Linked DNA regions of Homo sapiens: region 2 is linked to region 1. The links are contacts of gene promoters, found by promoter capture Hi-C in human tissues and cell types (Jung and others, 2019). All regions are on one chromosome and are shown on one strand. The core of a region is centred on a gene start or on the middle of the fragment in contact, and the rest is flanking DNA. Distances in the headings are between cores, read along the strand shown. Region 1 holds the start of PKD2L1 (polycystin 2 like 1, transient receptor potential cation channel). Region 2 overlaps SLC25A28 (solute carrier family 25 member 28).

Evidence for each region. The method cuts DNA at HindIII sites, captures the fragments that hold promoters and counts their contacts. A contact is called where the count stands out against the background at its distance.
Region 2: a fragment that was not itself captured here is called in contact with the fragment with the promoter of PKD2L1 in region 1 in 1 of the 25 tissues and cell types used here (dorsolateral prefrontal cortex).

Annotation. Positions count from the first base shown.
Region 1 is chr10:100,326,966-100,333,065 of GRCh38, reverse strand. PKD2L1 (polycystin 2 like 1, transient receptor potential cation channel) reads left to right here and starts at 2,838. Exons shown (of 16, transcript NM_016112.3): 1 at 2,838-3,197; 2 at 3,742-3,855. The coding sequence starts at 2,963. RefSeq lists an enhancer at 5,700-5,819. The HindIII fragment of the contact is 2,587 bases long and covers 1,398-3,984 here.
Region 2 is chr10:99,612,575-99,618,674 of GRCh38, reverse strand. It overlaps SLC25A28 (solute carrier family 25 member 28), which reads left to right. Exons shown (of 4, transcript NM_031212.4): 2 at 4,751-4,979; 3 at 6,076-6,100. Among named protein-coding and RNA genes, the nearest start is that of SLC25A28, 4.8 kb to the left of the region's middle. The HindIII fragment of the contact is 3,914 bases long and covers 432-4,345 here.

The sequences.
Region 1 (6,100 bases), core at 1,589-4,088:
TCCAGAGGAAGCTTCCTTTTCCCCTAAACTTCATAATGTTTAGTGTCTATACCATTAAAATAGGCTACCTCACATTATTCATGCCTCCATTTGCTGCTGCTGCTTTTTTTTTTTTTTTTTTTTGAAACAAGCTCTTTCTCTGTCACCAAGGCTGGAGTGCAATGGCATGAACACGGCTCACTGCAGCCCTGACCTCCCGGGCTCAAGCAATCCTCCTGCCTCAGCCTCCTGTGTATTTGGGATCACAGACATGCATTACCATGCCCAGCTAATTTTTTGATTTTTTTGTAGAGACAGGGTCTCACTTTGTTGCCCAGGCTGGTCTTGAACTCCTAGTCTCAAGCTCGGCCTCCCAAAGTGCTGATGTTAGCCACTGTGCCTGGCCCATTTGCTCCATTTTTTAAAGTTTTATTTTATTTTTAATTGATAAATAATAATTCTATATACTTATGAGGTACAATGTGACATTTTGATACATGTATACATTGTGGAGTGATCAAATCAGGTGAATTAGCATATTCATTACTTCAAATATTTATCATTTCTTTGTAGTAAGAACTTTTTAAATCCTCTCTGTTAGCTATTTTGAAGTACACAGTACCTCATTATCAACTGTAGTCACCACACTGTGCAACAGAACAACAGAACATATTTCTCTTGCCTGATTGAAAGCTTTTATCCATCGACCACTCTCTTCCCCTCTCACACACCCCTCACCCCCAGCCTCTGGTAACCACCATTCTACTCTCTACTTCTACGAGTTCAATTTTTTTAGTTTCCACATATAAGTGAGAGCATAGGGCATCTGTCTCATTATGCCTGGCTTATTTCACTTAACATAATGTTCTCTAGGTTTATCTATGTTGTCGTAAATGACAGAATTTTCTGTGTTTTTTTTTTCAAGGCTGAATATATTATATTGTGCATATATACCACATCTTTTAAATCCTTTCGTCAGTTGATGGATACTTAGATTGTTTCCATATCTTGGCTATTATTAATAATCCTGCAATGAACATGGGAGAGGAGACATCTATTCAACACACTGATTTCAATTCCTTTGAGATTCTTGGAACATATGGTAATTCTATTTTTAGTTTTTTGAGGAACCTCCATACTGTTTTCCAAGATGTCCGTACTAATTTACAATACAGCCAAGCATACAAGGGGCCCCTTTTCTCCACAGCCTTGCCAACACTTGTTATCTTTCTTTCTTTCTTTTTTCTTGAGACAGGGTCTTGCTCTGTTGCTCAGGCTGGAGTGCAGTGGTGTGATTTCAGCTGACTGCAGCCTCAACGCCTCAGCCTCCCCAGCTCAAGTGGTTCTCCCACCCCAGCCACCTGAGTAGCAGCTGGGACTACATGCACGCACCCCATGCCTGGCTAATTTTTGTTGTTTTGTTGTTGTTTTGTAGAGGCGGTGTTTCACCATGTTGCCCGGGCTGGTCTTGAACTCCTGAGCTCAAGTGATCCTCCTGCCCTGGCCTCCCAAAGTGCTGGAATTACAGGTGTGGGCAACCACACCCAGCCAAGATCTCTTTATAGGGACACTCAAGACTGATTATTTTGACAAGGCTGATGTTTTGCTGAATGTGAAGGTGGGCTTCAGGCCAGTGAGTAGCCCTGGGTGGGGAGCCAGGAGTTAGGAGAGGAAAGTCTCTGCTCTAGCCTCAAGGAGGAGAAACTGCAGGGTGACCACCACAACCTGTGGGATCAGCCCCATTCTGGGGCATCATGCATGCCTATAGGGGAGCTGGAGCAGGTGATCAGAAGCTGGAGCAGGGCATAGGCAGGGATGTGCTTGGGGGCCCATGACACAGTTTTAATTCAGAGACCTGCAGTTATAAAGAAAGCAGATTAATCCTGATATCATGGATAGTTCCACTTTGTGCTCAAGTTTACGATTCTAGGCCCAGGACTAAGCAGAGCCATGGGAAAAGGTTCCCAGCTCAGCTGGGTCCAGATATCCACTCCCCTTTAGTCCCACATCATACTGTCCTTGTCCTTTGTTCTCCGATCCAGCCTCCCAACCAGGTCTTAGCCTTTTTCCCATACTGAGCCCCACACCCTTAAGGAACCCCCTCTCTTGGTGTATCTCACCTGTAAGCCATGGAAAGGCAAGCTTCAGAACAAGGAATATAGACAACCTAGGACTCTGTGGTCCTCTCCCCTGCCCCCTCAGTGCCCTGAAGTATGTGAGACTGGGGTTCCTCCTGCCACTGTCCTTTCCCCACGGCTGAGAGGGTGAAGTGAGGGAAGGGAGCTGCCCATCTCTGCTCCACCAGGGGACAGCTGAAGGTGAGACAGGACAGGAGCCTCAGACCCATTGACTGAACCTGGGAGGTGGGCAGAGCCTGGGAGGGGGACAGCGCTCTTCAGCTTTCCTCCCAGCCTTGGTCCCCACCCCAATCCATGTCGGCCCTTTTAGGAGCTTTTAGTGGAAATGAGCTCAGACCCGCAGCACAGGCCCCCGGCTCCCCTCCTGTCTCAGCTCCTCCCATTGCTCTTTGATCGTCTCTTCTGTCCGACCTCTGGGCCATCTCTCCACCAGGCACATCTGCGAGCAGCCCCCTTCATCCCCAGCATCGCCTTTTCCTCCCGTTTCTCCTTCCACTCCCAGCTCCACATCCTCCTCCTATTCTCCCCTCTCCCCTCTTCAAACCCCCACCTTCCAGTTCCCTCACCTCCCCTTTCGGCTGGTCCCCTGGGGCTTGCAGCAAGAGGGAGAGAGAGCTCCTGACAGGATTGATGGTCCTTCCCCACCCTGTCCTCTCATCCGCTCCCTCCCCAGCAGGCACAGACATCCCCCTACAAAAGGCAGGAGCCCAGGCTGTGTGGAAACAGCTGCTCTCAGACGCCTTTCCATTTGCTCTCTGCTGGCTAGGCTGGGCTGTGCCTCTGCTCCCTCTTCCTCTAGCTGAGAGTGGGCACCTGGGGTACCGGGCCCCCCCACCTCATTCCCCATGAATGCTGTGGGAAGTCCTGAGGGGCAGGAGCTGCAAAAGCTGGGGAGTGGAGCCTGGGACAACCCCGCCTACAGTGGTCCCCCTTCCCCACACGGGACGCTGAGAGTCTGCACCATCTCCAGCACGGGGCCTCTCCAGCCCCAACCCAAGAAGCCTGAAGATGAACCCCAGGAGACGGCATACAGGACCCAGGTGTCCAGCTGCTGCCTCCATATCTGTCAAGGCATCAGAGGTACCAGATAGGGGGACAGTTCTCCTGGGATATTAGAATCAGGAGGAGTCACCAAAAGCTTTTGGGCAGGGGGTGGGGGTGGAATGTGATCTGAAGAAGAGGTGACCTTTCGGTGTCACTTTGGGGTGTATGAATTGCCCATGGTAGTGCTGCATGACCCAGAACACAGAGGCCAGCTGAGCGGTCTACCGGTTGTGGGAGCCTGGCATGGTCATCACCTGGGGATCCAGAGAGGTATGTGGGAGCTGGTTTGAGGGAGGACATGGATGTGATGATGCCCTAGACTACCCCACCTGGAACAGGTGCCTCCTTTCCATGCCTTCATTCTCTACAAGCCAGGGCCTTCACCCCTGTCGACCTCAGGGAGCTGATGGGAAGAGCAAGCATGGGTGTGGGTACAGTAGCCAGATTCAGCCAAGGATGAAGGTGATGGGCAAGGAAGGGCAGGGGTGGAAAGGGGCTAAAGTCCAGAGACAGATGGGTGGGGATGACTGGGAGGAACACTGCCACTGAGCATCCCAGGCATCTCTCCCATGCCCCTTAGGACTTTGGGGAACAACCCTGACTGAGAACACAGCTGAGAACCGGGAACTTTATATCAAGACCACCCTGAGGGAGCTGTTGGTATATATTGTGTTCCTGGTGGACATCTGTCTACGTGAGTAGCATCTGTGTTTGTGTACATCTGTCTGTGAGAAACATCTATGTGTGCACTATATGTATAAACATTCCTGTGGGCAACATCTGTGGAGCGAGCATCTATCTGTGTAAGCAGGCTATATCCGGGAACTTTAGATAACAATATTCCAATCCCATCTATTTACCTTTGCAGCTTAAGATATTTTGTTTAAAAGGAATTTGTCAGTAGAGGAAGGCAGTTTGGTCAAGAATTACAAGGGGAAACCAGTTTTTGGCAGCCATTGTTTTCTATTGGCTGAAAAGGTGAAAGGTGAAAATATTTTACCCTTCTGTAGAGAGTGGGCTGGCACGGTGGCTCACGCCTGTAATCCCAGCACTTTGGGAGGCCGAAGTGGGCACATCACCTGAGGTCAGGAGTTTTGAGACCAGCTTGGCCAACATGGCGAAACCCTGTCTCTACTAAAAATACAAAAATTAGCTGGGTGGCAGGTGCCTGTAATCCCAGCTACTCAGGAGGCTGAGGCAGGAGAATCGCTTAAACCCAGGAGCAGAGGTTGCAGTGAGCCAAGATCGTGCCACTACACTCCAGCCTGGGGGACAGAGCAAGACTCTGTCTCTCTGTCTCCAAAAAAAAAAAAGAGTGGAAAACCACTCCCTTCTGTTTGGAAAGATAGTTTGGTGGGCTTCACGTAGTTATTATACTATATCCGATGCATGTTTCTTTAGAGGCAGAGAAAAAGATGGAAGAAAAAAGAGAGGAAGTAAAAGATCCAGGCGACCTTAGATCTCAGATCCCTGTTAAGAGAGGGAGGGAAACACATGGTATGGTGATGGTCCCATGTGAGAGACCACCATGTCACATGCCATTGGAGGAAGCTTATTGAGGCTCTAGCTATAGACACAAACTGAGAAATTTTGATCTCTAAGTTGAGAGAAGCAAGTGAAAAGATAGGAGGGCGACTGTGGGAAGATAGAGTCAAAGAACCGTAAATAATAATAAAATTGGACCAAACAGATGCTATTAGACTTGTAGGTAATGACAGCAACTTTGTATTTGGTTTATTACTTCTTTCAAAAGTTGCACAAGTGATGTTTGCCTAGTTTAATATAGTTGTGTGTGGGGTTGTGTTTTGATTAAAGCTGTAGGTTGAATCGTACAACTAAGATGCCCTCATTAGTAGGTGTTCTAGGCTCCGCAATACTCTGTTCTTGTCAGGGTGCATAAATCTTTTGAAAGTGGAGTCAAAGAGTCTCATAACATTAATGTTGATGAAATGTTGTCTTATTTTTTGAGCCACCCACATTTGTGCAAGCCCTCTAGGAAAGCTGGCAGAAAGCACTTTGTTCTGGCTGTGCTCTATCGGAACTCATTCCATGCTGGACAGAGGGGACAGTCCTCTGTGTTTGTCACTGGCCACTCTGCAGGGAGTGAAAGGACACAGTGCATGTGAGGAACAACGGCCGGCCCAATGTACATATTGTGGGGCCCTTTCAATTCCTTTCAGCAAATGGCTGTCAGAAATTCATTTGTTGACGTATCGATTATTTTTGTCCTAACCATCTGCTAGCAAGGAGAAGTCATCTCCTTTTTCAGATCCCGTGACAGCAGCTGAAACCCACAGGCAGAGCCTTTCTCTATAAATGACTTAAACGTCTCTCTTTCCAGATTAGCCTCTGGAACAGGACTGTTTCTAGCTCCCCAGAGTTACAGTGAACCATTTCTAACTCCATTGTATGGAGCTGGAAAGGGTGGAAGCTTGGGTTCTGGAAGTCCAGGAGTCCAATCCACTCATGTTCTCTGCTTTCTAAGATCTCAGTGCACTGATGCATTGCCAGATGGTCTGTGACTTGCCAAAATCTGAGTCACAGGCTTCGTTCAGTAATTACAGAGTCCTTGAGCAGACAGGGGTTTAGAGCTCATCTAATTTTAGGATGCAGAATACGTGGAATCCTTTCTCTGTGATCCTTCCCATGGTGCTCTGTCAGGTGGCCAACCAGCCCAACCTGGGGAGTGTCAGCGGGGCTGTCACTGTTTCATGAGGCAACCCATTCTACTATTGGGCAGCTCTGTTTCCTTCCTCTTATGGAGCCACCTCCTCTGAGCCAGACGTTGGACTGAGAAACACATAGATAACAGACACTTGGGCCTTTCCCCTCAGAGGCTCACTTCCTTTTCAGAACTTTCTTCTATTAAGCCAACTACTGAGGTGTTCCTGTTACTCTCTGAAGTGACAACCTTTCAACTGTTTGAATGAATATAGCTT
Region 2 (6,100 bases), core at 1,139-3,638, 710 kb after region 1:
TGCACTTGACTAAAATGGACATTAGAATGTTAAATGTCCTTGTCAATTGGGAGAAATAGAAATAAACTGTAAAATCCATGAGAGAGAAGTAACAACATTGAAATGTAAAACAAGTATAAATAAAAAAGATGCACACATTATATGTATAGACTCTAGGTTGAATGACTTGTGAGTTAATAATGCCGTATATCCAAAAGTTAATATAATCTAGCTGCAGAGTAACCTCCCTAGACTTAGACTGTGAGTAGAGTGCAGGGTTTAGGATGCTGTTTTTCTGGATGAGTATTGAATGGAAAACAGATCAATGAAAACAGTGAAAATTATGTAATGGCTTGAAAAATACAGTGTAATAATTTGTCTTAGAAATATTACTGTAACTTATCAATTTAACCACTGTTCCATTATAACAGAACGGGAGGTTATCTCCTTACTCCATATATTTACATAGTGCTATTGTTGCTATAAACATTTTATAAATCCCTGTTAAAAATGCTTCTAGAATATTTGGGTGCATGTCCTTAAGGGAGGCAAATCTTTGCCCTGTGACAAGATGGAATTGATTTTGCAAGAACAAAGACTATTCAGAATCAAATATGGTGAATAAAGTGGGAGGTCAAAATGGGTAATACTGCTTGGCATCAAAATAAGGTGGGACTGGAAAGCAAGGAGACTGCTTTACTTCTGAGGCCTATAAACCCGTTGAGGAAACACCTCTGAAAGAGAAGTTCCAGAAAGGTTTTGCATAACCACAGCTTTGCTGGAATAAGTCAATTGTAGCCTTCCAAGGTAACTATTTTGAAGAACAGTTCTTACTCATTTACATAAACTTTGGAATTTTTGTTTTTTAAAAATTAGTCATACAACATAGCAGTTATGCCTGAAAGCCCTCTATTAAGGAAATAATGATTTGAGAAAAAAATGCTCAGGAGTTGTCAACAATACGAAAGCTTATTTTAGAAGGCTCATTTTCACTTGCACTTAATGCTGGGATTTAAATGACTTAGAGGGAAGAACTAGGTGAGGCCAGTATGATTTAGTGTCAGTGAGTATGTTAAACACTTTTGTGCAGGCATGAAAGTAAAATTCAAATCTCTTCCTTCAGAAAAGACTTCCCAGTTTGCTTGTCCCCAGCAGCTATCCTTCTTCTTTTAATAAGTGGATGAGTGGGGAGGAAAAGCAGCCCAGTCTTTAAGACTGGAGGCAGATATCCATGTTGTTGGAGCCTAAAGGGCAACCACAATGTTTGCAAATGAAAGCTGACATTGCCTTTTGACATGCAGGCCTGTCCATCCTCAGCTACTTATCAGGGTCAAGTTGACTTTAAATATCCTTGAGAGGGACCATGAGAAGTCAGTGTAGCCTTGCTGGATCATGGTTATTCAACCAGCTATTTCCATGGCTATAATGGAGAGGCTTGGGAGCCCAGATAAATCCCAGTTTCCTTTTCTGGGCCTCAAAGGCAAGCGCCAGACTTTATCTATGGGGACATTCTGCAACCCAAAACAGTCAGAACCCTTCTCAAAATCCTCTGGCGAAGTACCCACCTATCATCAAGCTGCTGTTGTTGGCTCTGAAGTGGTAAAGCAAATATCCACTTATATAATAAAGAGGGGAAGAGCAGAGGGAGATAAATCTCCAATTTCCAGATGTAAATGGTATCTATACATATTCACCTGTGAAAGATTAGGAAATGGAAACATTAGCTTATTTGATTTTCTTGCATCTAGTAATAAGTATTCAGTGATCTTGTGTGCCAAGCACTATCTGAAGTACCTTACATACATTTATTCATTTAATCTGTGAAGCAACTTCATGAAGTAGAAACCATTTTCATTATTTTACAGTTGAAAGGAGGCTTAGGGAAGTTATATAACTTGTCCAAGGTCACACAGTTTAAGTAGCACAGTTATGATTTGAACTCAGTGTATCAGACTCTCAAGCCTTCCATATAGCTTCCCAAAAGCAGATTACAAGAACCAGGCAAGGCACAGAATTTCACAGTAAAGCTTGTCCCTGAACATATGACCTTCAGATTAATAGTGGGACATGTAAATCATTATAGCCACAGAGAAACTTTAAAAGGAAAACAAAAAATACAAAATTAACCCTGATTTATTGGTGGCTAAGGACAGTTAGTTGCCCATGTATATTTGTGAAATGACTTATACAGGAGGCAATGCTACCATGATCTGTAAATTCTTAGATATGAACAAATATAGAATCATTTTGAATACAATAAAAATCTTTGTATTTCTAGCATCTTATAAATTACCAATGGCTTTTACATATCTTATCTCTTTTAATCCCCACAACAGCCCTGTGAGCCAGTCATTCTTGGCCTCATGTTATAGATGACAATTTTGAAGCTTAAAGAGGTTAAGTGACATACCCAAGATCACACAACTAGCAAAGCTGAGGCTCAGACTCAGGCTTTTTGACTCAAATGTGGCTTGTCTTTTACCAAACCACTTACCTCTCTACTGGGTTGTTTGGCTTTTCTCCAAAGCCAGGTAGAAGTTTTTCACATTGAGGTTTTTCAGAAATTCTTACTTAGATATTTCATCTTTCTGTAAAAGGCAGATTTATTGGCCCACAAATTTGGGGAGCCATATTCATTTTTATATTTGGCATAGCTTATGCCCAGGTCCTCTCCATAAGGGTGTACTTTTATCGAGTTAGAATTGTTGAGTTAGATTTAGATGTGTATATAGAATGTTCAAAGTAGCTTCCCACAGTCCGGTTTTCTCTTGGGGGTGAGGAGTTCCAGGCCTCCGAAGCCAAACCGTTCAGAATTGGTAGCCAAATACACCATTGACTGCAGCAGAGCAATGCAATTGCTGAACATTCCCCTTATACAAGATCAGTTTTGAATAAATGCATGGAAACACGATAAGCTAAGAGGCTCAATTTATCTTTGCTTATTAGTAGCTCTAGCCAGCATATGACCCGTAGTCTCTATGAACAACTCTTCTGATGGATTTTATATGCCTTGTGTGATGTGAAAGATGAGTAAACAAACCCTTTATTGGAAATACATGAGGTTTTGTGGGGGGAAGTAGGAAAGAATGTGTCAAATTGTGATAAGTGATACTGTGTAGAGTATTTCTGATTGAACATCCAGTAACTAACCTTTTAAGCTTCCGGTTTTTTGTTGGTAGCAGGCAGGAGAAAATAACCAGAGGAATGTGGATTGCTTGCAGCTAACCGGGACCTGTTCATCTGGTTAGTTTCTTTTCTCCCATGCTCTTGAGGAAAGGTATTACTCTTGGATTCCAGTTGGCCAAGAGGAAGGTTCAAGCTTTTTTTTTTTTTTTTTTTGAGATGGAGTTTTGCTCTTGTTGCCCAGGCTGCCGTGCAGTGGCTCAAACCAGCGAAGGCTCACTACAACCTCCGCCTCACAGGTTCAAGCGATTCTCCTGCCTCCTGAGTAGCTGGGATTACAGGTGCACACCACCATGCCCGGCTAATTTTTTTGTATTTTTAATAGAGACGGGGTTTCACCATGTTGGCTAGGCTGGTCTCGAACTCCTGACCTCAGGTGATCTGCTCGCCTTGGCCTCTCAAAGTGCTGGGATTACAGACGTGAGCCACCGTGCCTGGCCGAAGGTTCAAGCTTTTAAATCCAAATAGAATCTAGTGATTAGATTGATGCAGAAATTTAAACTGTACTTGGGCATCACTTGCTTCCATTGGCTCACCAGTGATTGTAGCTGATACAGTTATGTGACAAAAGATTCATTCATTTAGCAAACAAATCAGAGGTGCTTATTGTGTGTCAGGCACCAGACATTGATTTTTCTTTTTAGACATTGATTTTATATTAACTATTAGTTTCCATGTTACTTTACCTTGAATTGGGTCAGTAGATGAGAAATTTTCCTGGGGAGACACACTCTTCAGAAAAGGTCTAATTTAGGGAGGTGTTTTGAATAAGATTAATTTCCCAAATTTCAACAAAACTTTGTCCAAGAACATCATACAAAGTGTCTACCCTACGCTTTTATTCCAATCATCAAATCCTTTAGAGAGATTCCAAGGATTATGTTTCACTGAGACTGATTTTATTTGCTAATGCCAATTTTGGGATTCAATCAGTTTAAATTAGAAATCTGGAAGGGCCCTTCAGGATTGGAGACTAGATTGGTTTCTAGCTAGACACTCCCACCTTTGCAGTTTCAGGGTAAACTTTCTTTCCCAAGAAATAAAAGCATGTATTAAGAATGCTGCTTCTGCCAAGACTCTGTGTAGACCCAGCCACCATTGCCAGATAGTCTGAAAAAGTATAAAAAAATTAGCCGCCCCTCAGTGTGTGGTCATGAAGCAGGGCCAGGGGCACTCTTTAGGTATACAGCATAAAGTATGTCATAGATAGTAAATACTGGAGTTTAGAATCCATTTGTAAAGAACTGTCAGCTTGAGTGTATTAAGGCACAAAAGCAACTTCTGAAACACAGGCTTGATATTTGTTGCTGGGGCTCTGAATCATTTTGGAGTACCAGGACACTTAGCAATAGGTGGGATTATTTTTTCAGGGAAAATAATGGTGTTCCATTCTTAGGGTCATAGATGACTAGAAAAAGAAAGGTCCAAGGCTTAGAAGAAAGATCAGCTATAGATTGGAAATAAGCTGAAAGCCAGATATCCCTCTCACAGATTGGCACAGCTCCATGTAGAAGGTCTGCCCAGTGTGTTGAGGTGGGGCGAGAAGTTGGCATTGCTGACATTGCGCTTCTCCTTGCTGTAATTTCAGACCCGGATGCAGAGTCTACAGCCTGACCCAGCTGCCCGCTATCGCAATGTGTTGGAGGCCCTCTGGAGGATTATAAGAACGGAGGGCCTATGGAGGCCCATGAGGGGGCTGAACGTCACAGCAACAGGCGCAGGGCCTGCCCACGCCCTTTATTTTGCCTGCTACGAAAAGTTAAAAAAGACATTGAGTGATGTAATCCACCCTGGGGGCAATAGCCATATTGCCAATGGTATTGAGCCTTCCTGTGCTGGTTCCCCCACTTTCCCAACTCTTTGGGCTTTGCTGCTGTCAGTGCTTTCCAGTCTCAGCATGGTTTGGAGCTGAAGCTTTGGGCTGGGATAGGCCAGATTATAAGGGAGGGACTTCCAAACCTGATGTTCTCAGACAACGGGCCGCTTCAACCCTGCCTTTTCCTTTGGGGCACCTCAACAAAGGGTTACAGTATCCTCCCTTACCTACCAGCTTGACTTGTTCCTCTCATCTCCCTGGCATCAACTTCTAATGCCCTGGTAATGTGGAGACACACTGAACTACCCCCAGTCTATGTTTGACAGTTGGGTGGTGTCCTGCTCCTTAGGGCAGGATTGGAGGCGACCCAGCCAGCCACCCAAGGAAGATACTAATGAAGCCCCTGCTTTTTGCCTCACCTTTTCAGGATCCCAACTCACCAGAGGCAGTTTGTGTTGAGAACATGACAAAGCCTCATGACAAAATGAATGGGGGTGGGGCCAAGGAACTGCATGAAGAAACCAGAAGGTTGTGTGGAAGTAAGAGAAAGGATAGCAGCCTAGGGCTTTAGGACCGGCTGGAAACCAAGTTGAGTGTGGAGAGGATGAGGGGTAGAGTAGTTCAGGACCTGAACGAAAGATCTTTGTAGACAAATGTTAGGCTCTGCAAATGGGTTCTGCGGCAGGACTGAGGTGGGATTCTGTGGTGAGGTTCTGTGAGATCTGACCACCTGGCCCCCGTATCTCCCTCCACTGGTGGCAGGTGATGTGCTGGCATCCCTAGGCAGCAGTGTATCTGCTTCCTGTCTGGGGTGTGAGCTGCATTTATTCTCAGAATGATCTTTATTGATAAGACTTGAGCTGGCCTTCCTATCATGGATGTGGAATACATTAGTGACCTTACAAAGTTGGTGGGAACAGATACTTTACCTTCTTAAACAGGAGTTTAGGAGCAGTGGGTCCCCATCTTTTGGACTAGCTCTTAACGTTACTTTTCCCCGCTGTAGTGTAGCACAGCCACTCCCCTTCACTGGGGGACCTCAATGAGTTGGTCAGCTCTCTTGGCCTTACATGTGGCAGTTGTTTTCTTGTTTGCAGGTGCGGCCGGGTGTGTGGCAACATT